Regions from separate parts of the Homo sapiens genome. Here all the other regions are linked to region 3. The links are contacts of gene promoters, found by promoter capture Hi-C in blood cells and fetal thymus (Javierre and others, 2016). All regions are on one chromosome and are shown on one strand. Each heading gives the region's core, a stretch centred on a gene start or on the middle of the fragment in contact. The rest is flanking DNA. Distances are from core to core; before and after follow the strand shown.

What was found. The method cuts DNA at HindIII sites, captures the fragments that hold promoters and counts their contacts. A CHiCAGO score of 5 or more calls a contact.
Region 1: a fragment that was not itself captured here is called in contact with the fragment with the promoter of RAB26 in region 3 in 2 of 17 cell types (erythroblasts and M0 macrophages); the score reaches 7.8 in erythroblasts.
Region 2: a contact is called between a fragment that was not itself captured here and the fragment with the promoter of RAB26 in region 3, in 3 of 17 cell types (erythroblasts, M0 macrophages and fetal thymus). The highest score is 6.4, in erythroblasts.
Region 4: a fragment that was not itself captured here is called in contact with the fragment with the promoter of RAB26 in region 3 in 5 of 17 cell types (fetal thymus, naive CD4 T cells, total CD8 T cells and 2 more); the score reaches 11.6 in fetal thymus.

What each region holds. Positions count from the first base shown.
Region 1 is chr16:1,827,950-1,831,225 of GRCh38, forward strand. It overlaps FAHD1 (fumarylacetoacetate hydrolase domain containing 1), which reads left to right. Exons shown (of 1, transcript NM_031208.4): 1 at 1-961. Among named protein-coding and RNA genes, the nearest start is that of FAHD1, 2.4 kb to the left of the region's middle. The HindIII fragment of the contact is 1,222 bases long and covers 1,416-2,637 here.
Region 2 is chr16:2,506,342-2,509,714 of GRCh38, forward strand. No RefSeq gene overlaps it. Among named protein-coding and RNA genes, the nearest start is that of ATP6V0C, 5.9 kb to the right of the region's middle. RefSeq lists enhancers at 848-1,348, 1,349-1,849. The HindIII fragment of the contact is 1,938 bases long and covers 992-2,929 here.
Region 3 is chr16:2,147,299-2,150,312 of GRCh38, forward strand. It overlaps RAB26 (RAB26, member RAS oncogene family), which reads left to right and starts at 1,327. Exons shown (of 9, transcript NM_014353.5): 1 at 1,327-1,680; 2 at 2,643-2,753. The coding sequence starts at 1,486. RefSeq lists enhancers at 328-879, 880-1,429, 1,430-1,981, 1,982-2,533, 2,534-3,014 and silencers at 968-1,017, 1,028-1,297, 1,308-1,397, 1,488-1,657, 1,668-1,797 and 1 more. The HindIII fragment of the contact is 14,976 bases long and covers 1-3,014 here.
Region 4 is chr16:2,456,617-2,459,918 of GRCh38, forward strand. It overlaps CCNF (cyclin F), which reads left to right. Exons shown (of 17, transcript NM_001761.3): 17 at 1-2,238. The coding sequence ends at 404. It overlaps LOC105371050 (a long non-coding RNA gene), which reads right to left. Exons shown (of 5, transcript NR_188689.1): 1 at 3,298-3,302; 2 at 3,097-3,220; 3 at 2,194-2,338; 4 at 218-350. Among named protein-coding and RNA genes, the nearest start is that of TEDC2, 1.8 kb to the right of the region's middle. RefSeq lists enhancers at 1,967-2,781, 3,012-3,101. The HindIII fragment of the contact is 2,703 bases long and covers 698-3,302 here.

The DNA of each region.
Region 1 (3,276 bases), core at 777-3,276, 320 kb before region 3:
CAAGCAACGGCTATTAAATGTCACAATCCTTTAATTAGAAACCATTTATTGGCCGGACGCGGTGGCTCACGCCTGTAATCGCAGCACTTTGGGAGGCCGAGGCGGGCGGCTCACGACGTCAGGAGATCCAGACCATCTTGGCTAACAGGGTGAAACCCCGTCTCTACTAAAAATACAAAAAATTAGCCGGGCGTGGTGGCGGGCGCCTGTAGTCCCAGCTACTCTGGAGGCTGAGGCAGGAGAATCAATTGAACCCGGGAGGCGGAGCTTACAGTGAGCTGAGATTGCGCCACTGTACTCCTGGGCAACAGCGAGACTCCGTCTCAAAAAAAAAAAAAAAAAAAGAAACCATTTATTTTAAAAATGATTAGATTGCTATGCCTCAACTCATAGAAGATGAACCCTTCAAGAAAACGTGAAGTAGAACGGGTGGGCCAGAAATGAAAACAGGCAAGTAAAGTATTTCTTCGGAAAACATTTTATCAAACCAAATGTTAAAAAGACTTTCCTTTTGTAAAACTGGATTAGAGAAGACTTTTCAGTGGGTTATCTCTAGGATGATCAGTAGTTCAGCACTTAAAAACTGCAGAGAAAACTGAAAGTTATGTTCCAGATAACTTTCCGTTGTTTACCAAATTTTCTTAGATTTGGTCATCATCAGGAAGCATTTGTAAAAATAAAAATCTCCACAAATTACTGGCCCATCTCGGACTTGCTGAATCAATTTGATAGGATTAATCTCCAGTGAAGCTGTGTTTACAGGGCATTCCAAGTGATTCTTATCAGGAAATGTGAAAAACACTCCTGTACATAATCGGTTAATTTAAAATTTTACTTAATAAGTGAACAAGTAATGAAGATTTCACCTGTTTACTTAGGGTATCTACCCAGACCCATCGATTCTGAGTTCGGGAGATGATTTTGAAATTACTGTTTTCCAAATAAAGGTGCTCCCTTCTAAGTGGCTTACAAGGGTAATTTTTTTCCCCCCAGTAATGACGAGGAGGGATATTTCCTCCTTGTGGGGCTTCAGACCTTAGTCTTTGACCTTTGGCCTTCTGAGCACTGTGCTGTGTTAACACAGTTAATCAGCAACTGTACTTCCCAACCGGAGATAAGGAGGCTTTGTGGAAGTTGAATAGCCTGGGACTGCTGCTTTTGCTCTTGCCTGCACCCTCCTCTGAAAAAACATCCAGGCAAGATGCACAGCATAGCTGTCAATGCCTGGAGGAGTCCTTTGGGCTTCGGCAGGGGTTCCTGTTCGCGTTCACATCATCTGCTGGCCCCTGAAGAAAGCCTAGGACATCTGATTGAGTAGTAACGGTCCCCATGTATTGAACACAGTACTGTTAGGCACCATGCCAAGCAGTTTATTCTGTATTTCCACGTGTTATGTAACCAGCAACCAAGCCATAAGCTTAGTATGATCACTACCATCCCCATTACTCAGATGAAGACAGATCTAGAGGCTGCGAAGGCTGGCTAAAGTCACTCAGCTTAGTGGCAGAGCCGAGATGTAACCCAGCTCCCCCAAGACCAGAACGTGAAGTTTTGACCACAATGCAGGCTGCATCTTGTAAGTAGATACATAAGAAGAATCAGACACTTAGGTATGCTGCAACCCCATGCTTAAATTATAATATAGTATGAGGAAGTGCCATAATTGGATTTCTTTATTAAGTATCATGCTATCTTAACTACTTTTAGTATTATTTTTTCATTGCTTGGCAATGCATGTAATTACAGAAGAGTCAGAAAATAGAGATTAGCAATTAGAACAAAACACCAAAAATTTCATCTACCCAGAGACAGCCAAAGTTAAGCATTTATTGCAAGTTCTTCCAAGTCTGTGGATATAATTGTAATTTTTTAAATAGAGTTTGCTCATACCATACAATTTTCTTTTTTTTCTTTCTTTCTTTTTTCTTTTTGAGATGGCGTTTAACTCTTTTTGCCCAGGCTGGAGTGCAGTGGCACAATCTCGGCTCACTGCAACCTCTGCCTCCCAGGTTCAAGTGATTCTCCTGCCTCAGCCTCCCAAGTAGCTCAGATTACAGGCATACGCCACCACACCCGGCTAATTTTGTATTTTTAGTAGAGACAGGGTTTCACCATGTTGGTCAAGCTGGTCTCGAACTCCTGACCTCAAGTGATCCACCCGCCTGGGCGTCCCAAAGTGCTGGGATTACAGGCATGAGCCACCGTGCCCAGCTATACCATACAATTATTTAACTTGCTTATTTCACTGTATATTGTGACCATCTTTTTCCTTGTTAGCTGACACATTTCTGCAGTACAACTTTCATGGATTGCATAAGATTCTGAAGTCAAGCCTCCATTTTTGGACCTTGAGATTGTCTCTAATGATTTGCTAGTATCAGCACATGTGCTGTTTTTTCCTTTGGCTAGGTTCCCATAAGTGGAAGAGTTGGATCAAAGGGCGTGCTCATGCTGGAAGTGTATTATTAGTCTGCTACCAGGTACACGGTTCAGCTGAGATATAGCTACCAAGTTGACAGACTATTAAAGTCAAAGTTATAAAGTAGAAGCAGTGCTCACATGCAGCCCTAGTAGGTGGCACAAGCCAGCACCGAGTACAGTGCCCCTGGGGTCAGTGTTCACCACAGTGGTAGAACAAGCTTTGTCACAAACATTGACATCAGCATTGCAGGTGTAGGCACACAAAGTCCTTAGATGCAAGAATCAAAAACAGAGACACCAAGTCCGACAATTCCTGATATTGCTAAAATCATAGTAATCCTAGCATTCAGAAGATAACGTTTTTCCACGTTTTGAATACATTTAAACCTATGAAAAAGTTTAAAAACCAATACAATGAACTCCATATGCCCTTTAATAGTTTCAACAATTACCAGCATTCACTATGTTTGTCCTCTGGTCCTACGTCTCTCCCTTCCTCCCCGCCATATATGTGTATATATGCAGACATGCACCTCTCTCTCTCTATACACACACACACACACACACACACACACCCATATTTTGGAAATGCGTCGGGATGGTGACTGCAGAAAGACTCTTCCCTTTCAGCATACATCTCCCAAGAATCAGGATATTCTCCTACATGGAAATGAGACCATTATCACGCTTAAGAAAATAATTCCACAGTGTATTAGTCTGTACAGAATATATGGTTTGACATCTGTTCTTCTGTTGTGTTTTTAAAACATGTTGATTGGCCTTTTATAAAAAAATGAGTATTACACATCCACTTAATATATCACGAACATATTTCCAGGTCAGTGAATATAAGTA
Region 2 (3,373 bases), core at 711-3,210, 360 kb after region 3:
TATATATATATATATAATTTTTTTTTTTTTGAGATGGACTCTCACTCTGCCACCTAGGCTGGACTGCAGTGGTTCAATCTCGGCTCACTGCAAGCCCCACCTCCTGGGTTCACACCATTCTCCTGCCTCAGCCTCCCGAGTAGCTGGGACTACAGGCACCTGCCACCACGCCCGGCTAATTTTTTTGTATTTTTAGTAGAGACGGGGTTTCACCCTGTTAGCTAGGATGGAATTATCTCCTGACCTCGTGATCCACCCGCCTCGGCCTCGCAAAGTGCTGGGATTACAGGCGTGAGCCACCGCGCCTGGCCACGTCAATATTAATGAATGTCTTTTTTTTTGTTTGAGACGGAGTCTTGCTGTATCGCCCAGCCTGGAATGTGGTGGTGCGATCTTGGCTCACTGCAACTTCCAACTTCCAGGTTTGAGGTATCCTCCTGCCTCAGCCTCCTGAGTAGCTGGGATTACAGGCACCTGCCACCATGTCCGGCTAATTTTTGTATTTTCAGTAGAGACCGGATTTCACCATGTTGGCCGGGCTGGTCCCTAACTCCTGGCCTCAAGTTATCCGCCTGCCTCGGCCTCCCAAAGTGCTGGGATTATAGGGGTGAGCCACCGTGCCCGGCCACGTCTTTTTAGTACCTTGTGTTTAATTGTGGATCGGTATAATACAAAGAAAAATAGAATGCCTTTTTTCTTTTGAGCCCTGCACAGATGCCCCCTCCCTGTCCAGTTCCTCCAGTGAGACCGAGGCTGCTGGGGGCCCTCCCTGCAGCTGCTGTGGAGCCTCTGCCTGCCGTCACGTGAGCTGCCTCTGCCCACTCTATGCTCCTGGGTTCCTCTTCCCCAGACTGGCCACGGGGGTGGCCCCTTCCTGCCAAGCCCTCTTTCTTTGCTCCTCTGAACACCTTCCTTCAGTACCTTCAGGGGACTGTTGGGGCAGCACCTGTCCCGGGTCTGAGAGGCCTCCTGGTCTGCTAGCCTGGCAGGAAGCTTGGCCCCCAACACAGCCACAGGCTCTCTGGCACCAGGTTTCTTTCAGTTCCTCTGAACTGAAAGCCTCTGTTTCCCGGCCTTTGCGCGTGCTATTTGCCACTCCTCATGCCTGGGCCCTAGTGTCCCTCCCAGGATTTCCCTGAGCTCCCCGCTGAGGCCGGGTCCGCGTTCTAGCTTCACAGCACCTGAGACAGGTGTTGGCTGGTCTCCCCACCCCCTGTCCTAAAGACTGTCAGTCTCAAGGGGCAGGAGTGCCTAGCACTGCAGAATGAACTGAAGCCCCTGTGGGTTGGTGTGCGCTGCTGCTGTGCGTCCAGGGTGATCAGAGATTCTCCAGGTGTGCTCCTGGGGCCTGTGGTGGCGGGACACCCCCTTCCCACACCCGCCACGCTCCCTGCAGTAACTCTTGCACTTACTGTAAGTGCTCGGACTGTCTTGTGCTTGACATTAGGACACACACTCAGGCCAGAATTGGGCAAGATTGTCCCTGAGCGGGGCGTGCAGAGCGCTCTGGCCTGGGAGGTGGGGCGCAGGGCTGCTTCCTCCTGCAGGCCAGCTCACTGTGGGGCTGGTGTCTGCCCAGAGCTTGGCCAGGCAGTGCCGCCCCCTCCCTTCCTGCCGCCTCTACCAGCAGCCTTCCCTCAGGCTGCTTTCCGGGCCTAGTCTGTGGCAGGTGTCCAGGGCACAGTCTTCCCTCTAGCCTGCCATGAAACTGTTTCATTTTTCTTTTAAAAAAATTGAAGTGAAATTGACATACTATCCAACCATTTGAACGACCCCAGACAGAGGTGGTGGTTGCATGAATGAGCATGTTGTGGAACCACCACCTCCAGTTCCATGGCATTTCCCCACTCCTAAAGGAAAACCTGGCCCCAGCAAGCAGCTGCTCCCCATGCCTCTCTATCTTATGACTTTGGGTTTCATTTTCATGTTTTTGTTTTTTTGAGATGGAGTCTTGCTCTGTCACCCAGGCTGGAGTGCAGTGGCATGATCTCTGCTCACTGCAACCTCCCCGTCCCGGGTTCAAGCGATTATCCTGCCTCAGCCTCCCTAGTAGCTGGGATTACAGGCACCCGCCACCACACCCGGCTAATTTTTGCATTTTTAGTACAGACGGGATTTCACCATGTCGGCCAGGCTGGTCTCCAACTCCTGACCATAGGTGATCCGCCCACTTTGGCCTCACAAAGTGCTGGGATTACAGGTGTGAGCCATGTGCCCGACCAGTCTGTGACTTACTTAAATACAGACTGGATCATGTTTCTCCCCTGCTCTATGCCCTCTCTTCATCTTTCAAGTCCTAATTCAGAGATCACCTCTTCTGCGACCCACCGAGCTAGTCCCAGCACCTCCTTCCCTTGTCCCCCCTGCTTCTAGGAACCACACTTCTGGTGCGGCATTGGCTGTACCGTTGGGGACGCTACTGCTCCCTGGTAGGCTGCCAGGTCTTGAGGGTAGGGACTCTAACTTGTCTTTGTCTGGCAGGGGCCTCACTCAGCACCTGGCACAATAGTAGGTGCTCAGGGAACTGAATGAATGGATCAGGGTCTGAGGCGGGCAAGGGCTGCGGCGGTGAGCCCTGACCCCCTGGGTGGAGTGTGAGGAGGCCGTGTTGGCCTTCAGGGTGCACCCTGAAACCAGACATGGGGTCCAGGCTGCCTAGGGCTGAGCGTTTATCTGACACCCGTTCTGAAAAACCTGGTCGTGGTGCAGGTGCAGCCCCCGGCCCTGGTCATTTGGAAGTTTGTGTCCAAAAAAACCCAATGGCTACTATAGCACCTGTGAGCCAATGGGGTCCTCCACCTGCCCACCTGCCTGCAGAAGAAACGCCGAACACTGCTGCCTAGTGGTCAGGGCCGGCTGGACTCCCTGCCCACCCCACTGGGTCCTCAAAGAGGAGGGCCCACTCAGGCCCTTTTCCATCAACCCTGAAAGCTTGGGGTGAGCGAGAAGGGGGAGCTGCCCTGTCCTTGGGGTCATTGCAGTCGTCTGCCTCCAACCTCTTGCCCCCTCAGTGCCTGCTGTCCAGCGGGAGCAGCTCAGGGCTCCACCTCCCCTGCCGCCCTCGACTTTGGGGAGCCTCCTTGCACCAAGCAGCTTGTACGGTGCCGAGTCCTACTTGCACCACGTTGTCTTTACCTCTGGCATTTTATTTTATTTAAACATGGGAGGCAGAGCTTGCGGTGAGCTGAGATTGCGCCACTGCAATCCAGCCTGGGTGACAGAGTGAGACTCCATCTCAAAAACAAAAAACAAAAAACAAAAAACTTCACTGTATCATTGTTTAAGCCTTAACTTTTAATGATAAGAAAATAAAGCACCTTTGGTCATACCCCTGATGGTACACCTGTGTTCTTGGCCCATTTCCTCCGGCCCT
Region 3 (3,014 bases), core at 77-2,576:
TGGAGATCACAGGAACAAATCCTAGCTCTGCCCTTCCTAGCCTGCTGACCTTGCACAGGCTCCTTGCCTTTCTGGGCCTCGGTTTCCCCATCTGGACACTGAGGGCAGTACCCACCTTGCAGGATAACTTTGAAGAGGTCGTGTGCCTGGCACACAACAGTGCTTGCTGTAGGGCAGGCTTCCACGGCCTCTGCCAGGCCCTCTCGAGGAATCACTCTGCTGGGCAGTGCCCCCCATCTGTGTTTTCTCAGGCCTCTGACCCGAGAGGCAGCCAATTGTTTGGACTCTGGGCACTGCCAGCTGGGAGGGCTCAGGTCTCTGAAGGGCCCAAGGTCCTGGTGACAGCTGTCAGGTCTCCGGGGACAGCTGGGTCATCTCTCCAGCTCCCAAAGAAACACCAAGAAGCCCCTGCATGCCAAGGACACCACCCCTCTGGACCACTGTGCCCCAGCTCTGACCACTGCAGTCCCATCTTCTCTGTGAGAGGGGGTGACAGAGCTCCAGTGCAGCCCAGGTTGGGGAGGTGGGTCTGCCAGGGACCAGCTTAGGATTTGGAGAATCGGCCCTGGCCACCTGAAGGTCCGAACCTGGAGGAGAAGGACAAGGGGCCAGCCACACAGCCTGGGCAGGGGCCTCTGCTTTCCACCTTTCAGACCCTGAGGGCAGAGTCCCGTGGGAGGGGACCCTCAGGGGGCCGGGGGCTGGCTGCCACAGCGACTTCCTCCTTCCCGCAGATCCCCAGGCGTGCACAGCAGGCAGAAGCTGTGGGGGAGATCGCAGCGCCCGCTGTGTCCTCCCGGTGACCAGCTGTCACCTGAGCCCAGGGCGCCTGCCCCAGCAGCCTGGTGTGTTTGCCAAGCCAGGGCTGGAGCTTCCTGGACCCGCCTACCCTGGAGGGGATGGAGCAGTGAAGGGCACCGGGCCAAGCGCTAGGCATCTGGGGCTAAGGAGACAGAAGCCCGCGGTGCCCGTCCATGCGGGCCCTCTGCCCCAGCACCCACATCTCAGGACACCCCTTCCTCCCAGGTCTGGCGGTCCAGTTTGGGGGTCACCGAGCTGGGGTGGTGTGCAGCCAGCAGAGGGGATTCAGGATCCCGGGGTGACTCCTGGCCCAGGCCTGTCACCCCACAGCTGGCTCCTGGCCCCAAGGCAGCCACGGGCAGGGGTCGTGATCGGGGGCGGGACGGGGCCCGGACCTCCTGACCGCCCCCCACCCCCCGCCGAGCGGGGGTGTATTTGCATGTCCCCGCCCCACGCACGGCATTGGCGGCGGCGGCGGGAGGCCGGGCCTGAGTGGCTGCGCGCCCGTGGAGCGGCGGGGGCGGGGCGCGAGCCGGGCGCCCGGGATGATGCCGCCGCCGCCGCCGCCGCCGCCGCCGCCGCCAGGGGAAGGGTTCGGGTCCGGGTCGGGCTCGGCGGGCGCGGGGTGCGGGACGGCCCAGGGCACGGCGGCTGCAGCGGGAGCACACTGAGCGCCCGCCCGCCATGTCCAGGAAGAAGACCCCCAAGAGCAAAGGGGCCAGCACCCCCGCTGCCTCCACGCTGCCCACCGCCAACGGGGCCCGACCGGCGCGCTCCGGGACTGCGCTTTCCGGCCCCGACGCGCCGCCCAACGGGCCCTTGCAGCCCGGCCGGCCCTCGCTTGGCGGCGGTGTCGACTTCTACGACGTCGCCTTCAAGGTGAGCCAGGCACCCGCCCCCCAGGCCAGCGCAGCAGGTGGCGCCCGGCCTGAGCCAAGGGTTGGGGGTCGGACAGGGGGTGCAGGGCCCGCGGCCCCAGGGCGCGGAGCCGACGCGGGAGGAACCCCGTGGGGCTTGCACGGTGCATCGTGCACACACAGCTGTCCATCCCAGGTCTGGGGTATCCAACAGCTGGCAGGGCCTGTCCCCCACCCCCCAGGCGGCATGGTGGCACAAGGGGTCCCGCGCCCCAGTGCCCTGGCCCCCGCCCGGGGTCTCACCATTTCCCGTATGCTGCCCTCCCTCAACCCAGCGGCTGTGGGCCTTTTTTTTTTTTTTTTTTTTTTGCTGGGGGGAAGAGGTTTGCCAGATGGATGGGGAACCCTGGGACTCCAGACCAAGGCAGAGGCTGTGTGGACTTGGCAGGGGGCTGGGAGGACCATTTTGGGTTTGGTAGCACAGGTTTCGGGGAGAAGGCCTGACTGCTGCCCACTTGCACCTCCCCCCAACCTCAGACTTGGCCCAGGTCCCTCTTCAGATCGAGATCTGATCCTAATGGGGCAAATTCCTCGAGCCTTGCTGGGGTCATGTCCCTACTGGGATGTGGAGAAGCCCCCGGCAGAGGCCTCCCCAAGTCTCTTAGGAGGTACCCAGCTGCCACCCCACCTGCTCCCCTCCCAGATGCTGTCCACCGTGTGGGGGTATGGACGTTAGGGAGGGTCCGGGATGCAGGTGGCTGCCCTCACTCCCCGCTGACTGAGACGGCCACTGTGCAGAAGGACAGAGCAGCCCCAGCCTTTCAGAGGCATACGCTGGGTGTCCAGCCCATCGGGGTCCCTGGCCCCGCTGAGCCTGCAGGCCTGGGCTGCCTCCCTCCACTCCTGCTCCTCACCTGCAGCCCCCTTCTGACCAGGCCAGCTCAGGGCAGACCAGACTCCCCCCAACCCTCCTGCTTGTCCTAGGTCATGCTGGTGGGGGACTCGGGTGTGGGGAAGACCTGTCTGCTGGTGCGATTCAAGGATGGTGCTTTCCTGGCGGGGACCTTCATCTCCACCGTAGGCATTGACTTCCGGGTGAGTGGAGGCCCTGGCCTGGCCCCACATCAGAGTCCCGCCGGTACCCGAGCAGCAAGTTCTCTCTGATCCCCATGGTACCAACAGGCTCGAGGCCTGGACCCCAGAAGCTGCCTGCCTCGACCTTCCAACACCTGGGCTGGTGGCTGCACCCGACAAGCATAGTTAGTTGCCCTATGCCAGGGGCTGGCATTACCGAGGGACCATATCCTGTGCCTTGGGGGAGGCGGACACTGTTGCCTACAGGGTGGTGGGTCAGAG
Region 4 (3,302 bases), core at 799-3,298, 310 kb after region 3:
CCAGTGATGAGGAGGCTTGTCCAGAGGACAAGGGACCCCAGGACCCACAGGCACTGGCGCTGGACACCCAGATCCCTGCAACCCCTGGACCCAAACCCCTGGTCCGCACCAGCCGGGAGCCAGGGAAGGACGTCACGACCTCAGGGTACTCCTCCGTCAGCACCGCAAGTCCCACAAGCTCCGTGGACGGTGGCTTGGGGGCCCTGCCCCAACCTACCTCAGTGCTGTCCCTGGACAGTGACTCGCACACACAGCCCTGCCACCATCAGGCCAGGAAGTCATGTTTACAGTGTCGTCCCCCAAGTCCCCCGGAGAGCAGTGTTCCCCAGCAACAGGTGAAGCGGATAAACCTATGCATACACAGTGAGGAGGAGGACATGAACCTGGGCCTTGTGAGGCTGTAAGTGTGTCAGCACATTTGCCGCAGTGGATGTGTACTGAGGGGGCTGGAGGCGAAGGGTGGGAGCATAGCATAGGAACGCTGCATAGACCATGGAGGCCTTTGCGCAGAGAGCAGAGAGGATGACTTGCGGCCACCAAGTTTCTGTCTCCGCGGGAGTCCCGTGCAAGCCATCAGAATGTTGAAATGAGGGTGAAGAGCTCAGATCCCTCTCTTTGGAAAGTTTAGCCTGGAAGCAGTTGGCCACACTGTGTGGAGGGCACCTCTCTGTCCCTTCCGTGTCTCACTGTCTCTGGAAGCTTCAGCCCATGTGTGTCCTGGTGTTCCCAGCCCCACCAGAGCCCCGTGCCGGGAGCTGACAGCTTTCACGCTTAAGGCACGTGTGACCTGGGTAGTCAGACACCACTTGAGCCCCTGCCCACATCTGCTGGTTTGGGGCTTCAGTGGGGAGCTGACAGCTGTGAGCACACCACTGTCCCCTCATCCACCTCGGCCTGCATGGGGCACCCACTTCCTTCTGGGTGGGGCTTCCATGGTAAGGGGGCCTGCGTCCCTGCACACTGCGAGGACTGCCTTGGCCACAGGCCCACTCCCTACGACACGTGACTCGTTTTAGAGCTCTGTCCCAGAGGCGTTCGTATGTGACCCACAGATGGCGTCAATGTGAACACCTCTCTTTGTGCTGAATTTCTGGGCCATTCTTTTCCTGTCTTATTTCTAAATTTCCTTCTTCCAAGATGAAAACAAAAGAAAAACTTAAAACAGAAGGTATTAAAAAAACAAGAGATTCCCACCATTATTTAGGTTCACCTGCAAAACAAAAATCTTACTCCAGCCCCTCAATGCCATCCTGACACACTTTATGCAAAAAGAATTTTCCCAGATAGGCTAGCCAGAAAAAACTTCAAGTCCTCTGTAACATCTGAGGTGACCAAGAGGCAGAAGAGCAGAGCAGTCGGGGGCCGTGTCCTGGCTGATCCCAACTGCAGCTCTGCTGTGGGGGCCCGTGGGAGGGAGGCAGACCCCTGGGCTTTCCTGCTGGCCACGGAGACTCTGCTCCTGCATGGAAAGGGAGCCTGGGAGCCAGCAGCCCACGCCTGGGGAGCCTGCCTGGGGCCATGTGACCATGGCCTCTCCCTGGGAACGGGCTGACCACAACACACCCTGCTGCCATCCACTTCTGTTTACTCTGCAAATGTAAGAAAGAACCACTTGGCCAGAAGTGTCCCCCAGATGCTTTTTTTTTTTTTTTTTTGGAGACAGTTTTGCTCTTGTCTCCCCGGCTGGAGTGCAGTGGCATGATCTCAACTCTCAACTCACTGTAACCTCCGCCTCCCGGATACTCCTGCCTCAGCCTCCTGGGTAGCTGGGATTACAAGCACCCAACCACGCCCAGCTAATTTTTGTATTTTCGGTAGAGACGGGATTTCACCATGTTGGCCAGGCTAGTCTCGAACTCATGACCTCAAGTGATCCGCCCACTTCGGTCTCCCAAAGTGCTGGGATTACAGGCATGAGCCACGGCGCCTGGCCCCCAAATGCTCTTGAACCGGAAACCCAGGGATGGGAGATGCTCACTGAGCTGCTGCTTTTATGTGTGCTGGTGCTATGTGTGTTCATGTCCGCGGCAGCTGTCTTTTTGCTACTATAAGGGAATTCTGGCCACCCTGGGTGGGGTGTGGTCGGGGTGAGAACCCAAGCGTTGGAACTGTAGACCCGTCCTGTCGACTGTGTGCCCCTGGGCATGTGTGAGCCTCAGTTTCCTCATCTGTAAGGGGGGCAATGATACCTACCTCACAGGGGTGTTGTGAGGATTAAATGTGAGGAGGATAGTGGCAGATGAGTGATGGACGTCCTTCACTGCCTCGGCCCCTTGTCCAGGGGCTCTTAATCCCAACTCTGCATGGAGTCAGTTCTCTGCTTTCTCCCAGCTTGCACCTGAAGGAGGAAACCACTCCAGGGGGACCTGGCCCCGCCTGCCTGTGGTGGGTGGGTTCCTGCATCACCCACCTGCTGACTGAGCATTTCCCTGCCTCCTCCTTCACAGAGAATCTCCAGGGAGGCAGGGCCACCGTCACCCTCCCCCACCGCTGATGGAGGGGCCCACCCGGAGCGCTGGGCCAGAGCTGCCTGGGTCCCAACCTCCCTGACAACTCCCTTTGTGCCCTCCTTCCCCTCTGCGATGGCACCTTCCCATTAACGACTATGGAATGGACTCACCTGTCCCATCTTTAAACAGCAACCCCAGGCTCTGTTTTTCTTTCAGCTACCGCCTGGGATTTCTTGCCCCCTAATTGTTTATTCTTGTTAACACCAACTACATGGGGCCCTGCTGCCTTCCTCACTTCCTCCCTCAGGTGTCCCCCGCATCACCGAAGGCCCTGTACCCCCGCCCCCCTGCTGTGCTGTGTACACCGCCGAGGCCTCAGCAGCACTTGGCCTGTGACCCACTCCCTCCCGTGACAGCCTCCTGTTGCCTCTGTGACACTGTCCTACTGCTCCTCCACCTCCCTGGCCATTGCGTGGGCCCCGTGATCTGTCCCTACCCGTCCCCTGCCCCACCAGGGGCCACCTCGCCTGGCCCACTGCTCCAAGGTCTGAGCTTCCTCCCCTCTGCCCAGTGCTATCACGTCACATGTCCAAAAGTGAACACTTTCTCCTCCTTCATCCCCGCCCCTGACACGCGGAATCCTCACCTCCAGCAACCCCGTCCTGTCCCTGTGCTCGGTGGCCCAGGCGTCAGCAAGACGGCTGGTCCCTGCGTTAAGAGCACTTTCAATAAGGACAGATGGAGCCTCTCGTATAACCTTCACCGGCCCCCTGCAAGAGAAGCGCGATAATGGCGCCCCCATCTACCCAGTTACCCAAACCAAAATCCCGGCGTCGCCCGCAGTCACCTCCC